3 separate regions of the Homo sapiens genome follow, and all the other regions are linked to region 2. The links are contacts of gene promoters, found by promoter capture Hi-C in blood cells and fetal thymus (Javierre and others, 2016). All regions are on one chromosome and are shown on one strand. The core of a region is centred on a gene start or on the middle of the fragment in contact, and the rest is flanking DNA. Distances in the headings are between cores, read along the strand shown.

Region 1 (4,138 bases), core at 1,252-3,751, 3.2 Mb before region 2:
CTTCAGATCCTTCATCAGTCACTTCTTTCGAACATTCTTATAGATACACATCTTTGGCTTTGAAGGTGTTTGTTTATTTTTACAAGCAACTAGTCATTAGACACCACAGTTTAGGTTAAAGATCATGACATATTAGATTAAAATGTAAGGTATATTTGGATGCAAATTTCCACATGTAAGTTATATACGAGTTCTGAAAACAATGCCAAGAGGAGTTCTAGAAATGTTGAAAAAGAGAGAGAGAAAGAAAACAAGGAAACGTGTTTAAAGAGTCACAGACCACCCCCTCAACTTTTTTCTTTTTTTTTTTGATAAAGAGTATTGCTCTGTTGCCCAGGCTGGAGTGCAGTGGTGGGATCTCAGCTCACTGCAACCTCTTCCTCCCGAGTTCAAGTGATTCTTGTGCCTCAGCCTCCTGAGTAGCTGAGATTACAGGTGTGTGTCACCATGCCCGGCTAATTTTTGTATTTTTAGTAGAGATAGGGTTCCACCATGTTGGCCAGGCTGGTCTTGAACTCCTGACTTCAAGTGATCTGCCCGCCTCGACCTCCCAAAGTGCTGGGATTACAGGCGTGACGCCCGGCTAACCCTCCTGAAAATCTGATTAAAATTACAGTTCCTTTCCCTGGAAACATATGGCTTCCCCATCGCCCTATGCCCTGCAAAACCACTTGCACAGAGTATTAGATAGTCATGAACATGCTGAGGACCCTCTGTGGAGCCACATTTAGACCCCATGATTTAAAGCAGTGGCTTTTTTATTTCCTTTTCTGTTTTTTTTTTTTCCTGTTGTAGCCAACAAGAAAAAAAAGAAAAGGAAGTACCTTGTATACTGTGACCCAGTTTGTGCATATATATATATATATAAAATTAAAAGTTTCACAAAACAATCCTCAACCCTACTAGATGTGATAGTATTCTTTCTTTTTGATTTCATTAAGAAAAATGTTACTCATGACCTACTGCACTAATTTCACAATCTATAACTTGAAAAATACTAATTTAGAATAACTGCTAAATAAATGGAATAAGTTAATGAAAAAGAAAAAACTCACTTGATTATAAAAATTCTGGGCTGGGTGCTATGGCTCATTCTCATATTTTGGAAGACCAGGGCAGTAGGATCGCTTGAGCCCAGGAGTTCGAGACCAGCATGGGCAACAAAGTGAGACCCTGTCTCTACAAAAAAATCAAATTTAGCTTGGTGAGGTGGTGCATGCCTGGGGTCCCAGTGACACAGGAAGCTTAGGCAGGATACTCACTTGAGCCCAGGAGGTTGAGGCTGCAGTGACCCATGTTTGCACCACTGCATTCTAGCCTGGGTGACAGAGCAATACCCTATCTCAAAAAATTAAAATGAAAAATAAAGATTCTGGCTGGACGCAGTGGCTCACGCCTGTAATCCCAGCACTTTGGGAGGCTGAGACAGGCAGATCACAAGGTCAGGAGTTCGAGATCAGCCTGGTCAATATGCTGAAACCCCGTCTCTAGTAAAAATACAAAAATTAGCTGGGTGTGGTGGCACGCACCTATAGTCCCAGCTACTTGGGAGGCTAAGCCAGAAGAATCACCTGAACCTGCGAGGCAGAGGTTGTAGTGAGCCAAGATTGCGCCACCGCACTCCAGCCTGGGTGACAGAGTGAGACTCCATCTCAAAAATAAATAAATAATAAAGAAAAATTTAAAAAAAGATTCTAATATGTTATTTTAAAATAATAAACACAAAAGTTATTTCACTCTATAGTCCAACCTTTCTAGAGATTGGATTCTTTATGGCAAAACTGTGTTGCCTTGGTCATTCATCCACATGGCTTACTACTGGAGATCCCACTGAGTGAATGATACAATGGTCAAAGAAACTCCATACCTTAATATTAGAAAACCATAAATCATTTTCATGTAACGTGGCAAGGTAGACAGATGTAAGAAGTCCAATGCAAAGGGCAATGGTTCCACCAATTGTCAATGACAAAATCTTCCATAATCTTCTACTGGTACAACCTTTTGGAAAAATGGAACAGATAAATAACTAAGTCAGTAAAAAAATCAGAATGTAATAGTTCTACTTCAGATTATCAAGTAAGCTAAGTCTAGCTGCCTGTCACTGGGAAAGCTTTTCCTGTCTCCAGCGGAGGGTCCTTTCTGATTCCACAGACCTGTTTTCATTCTATTACAACTGTTACCCCGTATCTAACTGTCCATGTGTCCATTCTGCCAACTACAACGTGAGCTTCTTGAAGACAAATACATTATCTTATTCATGTTTAATACTGAGGGCCTCTGTCCGGCACAGTTTAACAACCGTAATTTAACTATGAAGTCTGTTAAATGGATGACTAAATGTGTTACGTGTCTAGGACGTAATCGATCTTTTAGATAATCTAGGTACAATTGGTGGCTTATTCTTTAAAAGCTATTTTAAAAACTTGATTACCTAAAAAATAATTATTGTTTTTTGAGACAGGATCTTGTTCTGTTGCCCAAGATGGAATGCAGTAGTGCAATCTCGGTTCACTGCAACCTCTGCCTCCTAGGTTCAAGCAATTCTCCCACCTCAGCCTCCTGAGTAGCTGGGACTACAGGCACATGCCACCATGCCTGGCTAATTTTTGTATTTTTAGTAGATACAGGGTTTCACCATGTTGGCCAGGCTGGTCTTGAACTCCTGACCTCAAGTGATTCACCCACCCAAGCTGGGATCCTAAAGTGCTGGGATTACGGGCATGAGCCACTGCACCTGGCCGATTACCTAAAACTTTTTTTTTAAACCCACAGGTTTTGCAGGAATGCTCTGGGGGGAAAAACCCACAGAATAAATAATCCAACATAACTCAAGTTAAAGGACATATAAACTAGGCAAAATATGGATAGCACATATAAGAAAGCTTAAATACCCTTAACATAAGATGAATACTTTCAGGACAATTTATTTTATTTCAGGACAATTTATTGTCCTGTCAAGATGAATACTGCAGTAGGAAAAAGATTAAGGACATGAACAGGCAATGTACAATAGAAAAAAGTGGCCAATAATAATAACAGACTGAAGATGTTTAAATTCATTAATGTTAAAGAAATGCAAATCAAAACTGTGAGTTATACTTAAATCTTGGCCAATTTGACAGCTTTCAAAATGCTAATACTGTTTTGGTAAGGGTATAAAAAATAGACATCTTCAAACATTGCTGCTAGAAGAATAAATTGGTGCCTCTCTGGAATGCAACATGGCAGCAGTGAGTAAAAGCCACCAAAATGAGCATCCCATTTGGCCAGTAATTCCCAATCTAGGCATGTACCCTGCTGTGGTTTGACTATTCGGCCCCTCCAAATCTCATGATGAAATGTGATTCCCAATGTTGGAGGTGGGGCCTAATGGGAGGTGGTGTGGTGATGGAACCAGAGCCCTTATAAACAGGTTGGTGAGATTCTAGCAGTACTGAGTTTTCATTCTGTTAGTCCTAGGGGAGCTGGTTGGTTAAAAAAGAGCCTGACATCCTGTGTTCCCTGGAAATTGCTTCTACTCTGGTCATGTGATCTCTACACACTGGCTCCCCTAAGTCTTCTGCCACGACTGGAAGCTTCCTGAGGTCTCACTAGAGGCAGATGCTGGTGCCATGCTTCTCATACAGTCTGCAGAACCCTGAGGCAAAGAAACCTCTTTTCTTTATAAATCACCTAGCCTCAAGTATTCCTTTATAGCAACAGAAATGGACTAAGACATGCCCCAAGGAAATAAAGTTTTAAACAAACATATGGCCACAAGGAAATTGATCACAGTTCTGTCTGTATTAGCAAATGGTAAGAAAACCTTTCACTTCTACAGTGGCAGCTATAAAAATACTTTACATAGATGATATTTCAAAAATACGTTAACTGGCTTATGACATGTTCATAACATAATAAGAGAAAAATAGCAAGCTACAAAACAGCACGTGGATCCCAATTTTGCAAAACTGTATACGAATGCTTATGGGTATACATGTGCAGAATATGACATTAAGACAGCAAGACAGTGCCACTGGTGTTAGTTTCAGGATGGGAGTATATTTCTTTTTCTTTGCATTGTTTAAGGTGTTCAGAAAGTACTATTATCCAAAACGTGTTAATCACTCGCTAATGGCTGAGCCAGGTGTCATGA
Region 2 (3,701 bases), core at 544-3,043:
ATTGTGATATTATTTCTTGTGAAGCACTCAAACCATGCATGCTGTGTGACAACTTCTCTGGAAATGTCTTTTATCCTAAGGTTGTTGCCAAGGGAGAGCACTGAGCCAGCTGTGTGATGAGCCTGGCTAGGGTGGCCCCTGAGGAGGCAGCCTCCAATCTTGAGAGTACAATATAGTCCCTTGGGCTATAAGGCTGGTCAAAGCCTAGGCCCTAAGGGGAGTCATAGGAAGGTCAAAGGGGAAACCTGTCAGTACACTTTGGACCTGGCATGAGGAATAACAACGAGTCAGCAAGGATCAAGGGAAGGCTTCTTAGAGGAGGTGGCATCTCAGATAAAAACACCACTAGCAAATCCTCACTTGGTGCTGCCTGTGTGCTGGGCCTGCTTGTAGATGCTTTACACGTTTTAGTTCATTTACTCCTCCCAGTAACTTTACAACACACATGGCATCATTACTGCCCCCATTTGGCAGGTGAGGAAACTGAGGCACAGAGAGGTGAGGGAACTTGCCCAGATCACAGAGCCCATGCACAGCACAGAGCCAATTCTGTGCACTGCTTATATTAACATTTACTTAATATTTAAATTATTTTTGACCTAAATGAAAAACTTTATCTCAGTATAGTACAGAATAGAAAACCAGTATGGATAGAAAATCAATACTATGAACCATATAATGAAATCACTCTAGACTCAGTTCTCTGCTAAGAGCTTCTAACTCAAGATCTTTTCTGTTAAAAGTGGGAGATAAGTGTAGAGAGGAATTAAAGATATATTAGGATCAAACTGAGGCCAAGTGAATTTGCTCATGCCTATAATCCCAGTACTTTGGGAGGGGGAGACAGGACTCCTTGAGGCCAGAAGTTCGAGACTGGAGTGGGCAATATAGTGAGACCTCATCTCTACTTTTTTTTTTTTTTAATTAAAGATGTATTAGCACCAAACTGAGACTTTCTCATTGGTGCAATCAGGATTGAAAAACAAAACAAAAGAAAACAAAACTTTCTCACTATGTGATGGAACATGAATGAGCGAGCTCTGTGCATCCTCTAAAATTCTAAAATCCTACTTTGGGAAACAGTGGTGGCACTGAAGAGCATAGACTCAGGAGACAGATTACCCTGCTTCACATCTTGCTGGCTATCCAGTTCCTGGAAAAGAATCTCTCTAAACCTCGGTTTCTTCATGGGTAAAATGCTGATAGTAATAGCTCTGACTTCATAGAGACCTTGATAACAAATGAAAGAACGTAGGTATAATAAAACGCAAAACCAAATACACAGTGAATACTTAATAAACATAATCCATTAGCATTATCGAGCTTTGCACAGATGCCTCTGGCCTTTTTGTTGTTGTTGTTGTTAGATGAAGATAATAAAAATCATCATAGTAAACACATAGCGATTACTATGTGCTGGACTTCGTCGTAGTTGAGATATATTACCATCCTAAGTTAAACTATAATCGTTTATTGTTATCTCTAGGTCTTCCTAGATGAAATTTTTACCCTAAAGGATCGTAAAGTCGGCCCACCGGACGTCAGTGGGGTCCCCTGTTCAGCCCTCTCGTTCTTCTGGGGATCTCTCGGGACACTGACGAGGTGGCACCGGGACCTACAGGTGGGCCGCAAGCCCCGCCCCCAGCGACGGCTTGTAGCCCCGTCCCCCGACGCAGCGCCTCTCCAAGTTTGCCCCGCCCTGCAGGACTGCAGAATTTCCTTTCCGGCGGCGCGCTGTCGTCACGCGTCCCGCGCCTCCTCGCGCCTGCGCCGTGGTTGGAAGGTCGTCCCTGTGACCGGCTTGGCGGTTGGAGCGGCTGTCGCCATGTTGTCGGTAGCATCCCGCTCAGGCCCGTTCGCGCCCGTCCTGTCGGCCACGTCCCGCGGGGTGGCGGGCGCGCTGCGGCCCTTGGTGCAGGCCACGGTGCCCGCCACCCCGGAGCAGCCTGTGTTGGACCTGAAGCGGCCCTTCCTCAGCCGGGAGTCGCTGAGCGGCCAGGCCGTGCGCCGGCCTTTGGTCGCCTCCGTGGGCCTCAATGGTGAGCCGGGGCGAGGGCCGCGAGCAGGGCTGGGGGTCTCTCGGTGCCCGCTCCTCCGGCCCCCAGCAGGGAGCGGCCGCGGGCGCGCGAGCGGAGCCTGAATCAGGTCGGGCTGGGCGGCCTCCGCAACTCTGGGCCTGGCCCCCGGGCTCGGGGCGTCTTTCTGGTGGCCGGCCTGGACTCGCGTCCGCCGGCTTCGCCTGGTTCCTCCTCGGCCGAGTTCACGAGCTCTGTAGTCCCGCTGTTCCAGCCACCTCTGAGGGGTTTTGTTGCTTGCAGGTCGTTTGACCTTGGGCGAGTTTCTAAACGTACTTCCTGTGAAATGGATTCATATCTTTATCAATTTTGTAGGGGTGTCGTGAGGCTTAGGTGGAGGAATTCTACGTAAAGCCGTTAGCACAGTTTGGGCACTTACATGCTTAAGAAATGGAAACTTACTAATATTTGGGAAGTTGGTCTTCTCACCACTACCGATCCCTTCATGTCCTTCCCCTTCATCACCCCCCCACCAAAAAAAAAACAAAAAAAACATACACAAGGTCAGTTACAGTGTAGTGTCACAACATAATCAGTCGTCAAGGACGGGCAGAGATTGACGACATTTACATTTTACAGATGAGAAAACAGACGAGGTAGAATGACTCGCACCAGGATCCGTGGTGTGGACATGTGGTAGCAGGGATTTGACAAGACGAATTGTCGTAGCCACTGAGCTCTTCGCAGGGGCTATTCCACACCCTCTGTCCTTAGATCCCCGTTTATCTTCTTTGCCTCGCCTTCCATCTTTACTTGGCCCTGTATCGGAGATAGAGAAATGGCAGCCTGTGGGCAGTGTGTCTGCAGGCTGTGTAGTTTTCAAAAAAACTGGGAAGACTAATGGCATCTCTTAAAATGCTGGAAGCCGGTAATACTGGGATCTAGTTTCTACTTGGGAAAATTCCATAGTGTGCTGTGTAGTGGCCGCCCCCGCAGTTGGAGCAAGTGGTCTTCTCCAGTTTGTCACAGTCTTTACCAGGTCTGCGTGTTTCATTCTGTTACCAGCCTGGCTCCACTGATAGCTGTTTGTGACTCTTCCCCTACACGCTAACCAAATTGCCCGCCACTTTTCTTTTTACTCTGTCTTCATTCACCCTGGGCTCTGCACTTTCTTCATGGTCCTTCCACTAAGTTGCTACATGTCCATATGTTTTCCTTACCCATCTTTTCAATCTCAGTTAAGGATCAGGTGAATAAAGTTTTTATTTGCTGATTTGTCTGTCTCTGTAGCACATACACTTTACACTCTGTATTGTGTTTATTGGTAACTCCTCCACCCTTGGGCTTAAGGGCATAGAGAAGGTAATATCTTCTTTATTTTTCTATCTTTCACAACGTCGGATTTTGTATACAGTTAGTGCAAAGTATTTGTGAATGAATATTTGTTAAGGAGCATCAGTGGGTTTTGAAGAAACTGTCCATGGCAGGTGTAGAGTACCCTAGCCCATCCTTGGGACCTGGAGGTGAGAAGGAAGGAAGGAGAACATTTCAATAGCAAAAGAAAAGCATCTTTGGAATTCGTCGTGTTGCTAAAGTTTCTTCAAAAAATTGGAGGCTTACATTTCTCTGATGGCCAGTGATGCTGAGCATTTTTTCATGTGTTTTTTGGCTGCATAAATGTCTTCT
Region 3 (3,734 bases), core at 1,176-3,675, 3.4 Mb before region 2:
ACAACGAAAACATAGGTCAAACACAATTAAAACACAGCTGTCGGCATTCCCATGTAACATACGAGAAAGAACCCATCCAGTATGTGTCTCCACATGGGGCCTGCGGTATACAAACTGCATTATGGTAGTTGCTGTACATAAGGCTGCAGCTACATTCAAGTAGAATCCCCTTTTGCCCTCAAAGAACCAGCTTTATATTACACAGGTGACAACCTACCAGGCTGGAAGGTGAGCTTTACAGTTTCATCAGAGTGGAGCCTCAGTTCAAACACCATCACCAACATTTCTTAAGTACCTATTGCGTGACAGGTGCTAGAAATTTATAGTGGGATTTCAGGCAATTAGAAGGACCATGTGACTAATCTATATCATTTTCTTAGAGATAAAGCTGAGATCCAGGAGGCTATGCTAAAGAGACATAGGTAACTGTGGCCAAGCTACAGCCAGATTCCATGTTTTAAGACTCTCAGTTCTATTTTTCTGGGTGGGGAAGGGGAATGAAATTATAACTTTGCAACTATCCTCACTTCTTCCTACCTACCCAAATAGAAAGTAGTTCACGTTCACAGGACAGTGGTCTCATGGACTTGTTTCTTTTTTCTTTCAAATGAAATCCTTTAAGAAATCTAAAAACAAATGAGCACAGATGCTTTGGCTCAACTGAGAGGGAGAGCTGGGGCTGGCTGTGCCCACTATCCACTCCCAGCTCAGAGGCCCTTCGGTTCATGGAATGTGGCTTAAAGCTCATTTCCATAGGCCACTTCTTTATGGTTTGAGTACTGCAGCCCTGCCACAAACTTTAAGAGATGGGGTCTAGGCCAGGCATGGTGGCTCATGCCTGTAATCTCAGCACTTTGGGAGGCTGAGGTGGGTGGATCACTTGAGGTCAGGAGTTTGAGACCAGCCTGGCCAACATGGTGAAACCCCATCTCTACTAAAAATACAAAAATTAGCCGGGCATGGTGGCGGGTGCCTGTAATCCCAGCTACTTGGGAGGCAGAGGCAGGAGAATCGCTTGAAGCTCAGAGGCAGAGGTTACGGTGAGCCAAGATTGTGCCACTGCACTCCAGCCTGGGTGATGGAGTGAGACTTCATCTCAACAACAATAAAAAAAGATGGGGTCTCACTCTGCTGTTCATGCTGGAGTACAGTGGTGCAATCACAGCTCACTGCAGCTATGATCAGCTCAAGCTCCTGTGCTCAAGTGATTCTTCCCCCTCGGCCTCCTGAGTAGCTGGGTCTACAGGCTTCAGTCACCACACCTGGCCTGCCACAAACTATTATATCACAGAACCCTAAGATGCCATCAATTCTAAGATACACCATAGTTTTACGTATCTCTAAAAATGAAAAACCCTAAAATGAGAGGTCTAATAGAGATCTCCATTCAAAACTGGGGTTTCTCGGGAGGCCAAGGTGGGAGGATCACTTGAAGCCAGGAGTTTGAGACCAGCCTGGGTGATATAGCGAGGCTATTAAAAAAAAAAAAAGTTTAAAAAAATTAGCCAGGCATGGTGGTGCACGCCTGTCATCTCAGCTCCTCAGGAGGCTGAGGTGGGAGGATCACTTGAGCCCAGCAGGAGTTTGAGGCTGCAGTGAGTTCTGATCCCACCACTGGGGTATCAAAGAGCAACATTCTCAGTACAAAGTAAAGAATAAATAAATATGCCATGCAGTAAGGGGCAGTACAAAAGCTTGCATGCACCTGGCCCTGACGTAAAGAAGAAAAAAGTTCAGTCTTACAGGGTTGCTGTCTGAATTCACACTACTAGGCAGGAGGCAGGGGAAAACCTCAAGCAGAGAATTTAACTTTCAATGGTCTCAGAAATGTACTCAAGTGATAGCAGAGTCAAAAGTAAATCCCCTCTGGAAGAATCTGGGGCAAGAGCAATCTGTTTTAAAAGGCATCCTGATTTCAGATATGTGACAATGAAAAGATGTACACGGCAGAAATCAATGAAATTTGCGTCGTTTTACTTCCTATCACTACTCCAGATACTTCTCACCGTCTGTCTTCTCCCGAACCCTCCCTTCCTATTTCTGTAGACCCAGCACAGTGCCTGACCCAGAGCAGGTGCTCTATAAATATTTGCTGGAGAGGAGGAGTAAGAAGGTGAGGAAGGGGAAATAGAGAATTGTCCAGTAGCTAAAGGTTTCAGTCTTGCAAGATGAAAACATTCTAGAGTGTGAACACTACTGAAGAGCACACTTAAAAATGGTTGTGATGGTGAAATTTTATTTAACCACAATTTTTAAAAAATGATAGCATGATAGGGTAATCACATACTCATTCAATAAACCTGCCACCGAATCAATTACCTGCATCTGTCTCAGGTGCTGTGCGCTGTGTTGGGATAAAACAATCAGAATAGCTTACCAGTTAACACTTATTGAGCACTTACTAAGTGAGGCACCGGACTCACGTCACCCCCACAGCCGAGGAAACTGCCACAGCTGCCTATTATCAGGCTCATTTTTAAGGTACTCACATTGTAGCAGAGAAACATCAACCAGTAATTGCAATACAAGGTCTGATGTGGAGCTGCACACGTGTTTATTTAACAATAATGAAGATACCCTGCGGATGATTTTGGCCAAATCACCATTCCAGCAAAACAAAAAAATCTGAGTCACACACCTGCTTAAAATAACTACAGCAAAAGAAATCCATTTGGTGAAACCACCCTTCAAAAAGTTCACGTTTCCAGCCCATACCTGTGCTTTGCTTCCTGTTGGGCCGCATCACCAGGATCCTGGAAAAAAAAAACTTAAATTTAATAGAGAAATTTCACGGGAGGCGGCGGGAAAAAGGAACGGTTCTGTTGTTTCCTATACATAACAGTCTCTTGCGGTGGTAGAAACAACTCCCCAAATAAGAAACTGGGCCTCACAGAAATCAATGAACTAGTTCCCACTTACAACGTTTTGATGAACGTCTAAAACCACAACCTCAGAAGGCTTTGGAATACAGAGCACCCTGGGGAGGGGAATCCCTGTATTACGAAACCGTGTTTCACATGTAGGAATAATTTCTGGAAAATAAAACGGGCCTCGGTATTAGGGACAACGATAACTCAAAGACTGCGCCCTCCGTCCCTAAGGTCCCGGTCCCTTATCAGAAACGCCTCTCCGGGCGTGTGATCCATCCAAGCTTCCCAGGCGGCCCCTCCCTGTCATCCCGGCGGGGCAAGCGTTCCTCCGACCCTGCCGCGCTCTCAGCACCGGGAACACAGCGGACCCTCAATACCTGTCGGCTAAACTTGGGTCATAACAACTGAACTCCGGAAAAACTGAATTCGGTCCGGCTGCTGGCTCCAAAAGCTGAGATTGTGCTTGGATCCAGGCCCGCCAGGACGAGCCCGCTCCAGGCTAGGGGACCCCACACCCCAACGCCAGGGCAGGTCCCGCACGTGGCGGCCCCCGCCGCCAGCCTCCTGGGCCCCTCGCGACGAGGAAAGCGACGAGGCCACCTCTGAGCCGGCCACGAGGCCGCCAGGGCAGCGCAGGGGACCGGGGCCCCGGGGAGGCGCCCAGAGCCTCCGCCCCGGAGGCGCGCCCTACACTCCGGGCGAGGGCGGCGCCCCGCGAGGGCCAAGCCTGGCGGGGGCTGATGCGCTCACCCCGTGTTTGGCCTGCAGCTCGGCCAGCCTCTGTCTCCTCAGCGCCTCAAGCTCCTCGTCCGCCATGGCTCGGCGTCAGCGCTGGAGCAGCCGCGGTCACTCTCGCAGCCCCTC

What was found. Contacts are between HindIII fragments. The CHiCAGO score rates a contact against its expected background, and 5 or more counts as called.
Region 1: a contact is called between a fragment that was not itself captured here and the fragment with the promoter of UQCRFS1 in region 2, in 1 of 17 cell types (naive CD8 T cells). The highest score is 6.6, in naive CD8 T cells.
Region 3: a fragment that was not itself captured here is called in contact with the fragment with the promoter of UQCRFS1 in region 2 in 1 of 17 cell types (naive CD8 T cells); the score reaches 5.2 in naive CD8 T cells.

What each region holds. Positions count from the first base shown.
Region 1 is chr19:32,409,102-32,413,239 of GRCh38, reverse strand. It overlaps DPY19L3 (dpy-19 like C-mannosyltransferase 3), which reads right to left. Exons shown (of 19, transcript NM_001172774.2): 3 at 1,868-2,001. Among named protein-coding and RNA genes, the nearest start is that of DPY19L3, 5.4 kb to the right of the region's middle. The HindIII fragment of the contact is 772 bases long and covers 2,116-2,887 here.
Region 2 is chr19:29,211,243-29,214,943 of GRCh38, reverse strand. UQCRFS1 (ubiquinol-cytochrome c reductase, Rieske iron-sulfur polypeptide 1) reads left to right here and starts at 1,793. Exons shown (of 2, transcript NM_006003.3): 1 at 1,793-2,039. The coding sequence starts at 1,826. It overlaps UQCRFS1-DT (UQCRFS1 divergent transcript), which reads right to left and starts at 1,691. Exons shown (of 2, transcript NR_184022.1): 1 at 1,536-1,691. RefSeq lists an enhancer at 1,610-1,849 and a silencer at 1,890-2,199. The HindIII fragment of the contact is 13,970 bases long and covers 1-3,701 here.
Region 3 is chr19:32,581,214-32,584,947 of GRCh38, reverse strand. PDCD5 (programmed cell death 5) reads right to left here. Exons shown (of 6, transcript NM_004708.4): 1 at 3,621-3,734; 2 at 2,716-2,753. The coding sequence starts at 3,686. Among named protein-coding and RNA genes, the nearest start is that of PDCD5, 1.9 kb to the right of the region's middle. RefSeq lists a silencer at 3,279-3,734. The HindIII fragment of the contact is 1,457 bases long and covers 1,697-3,153 here.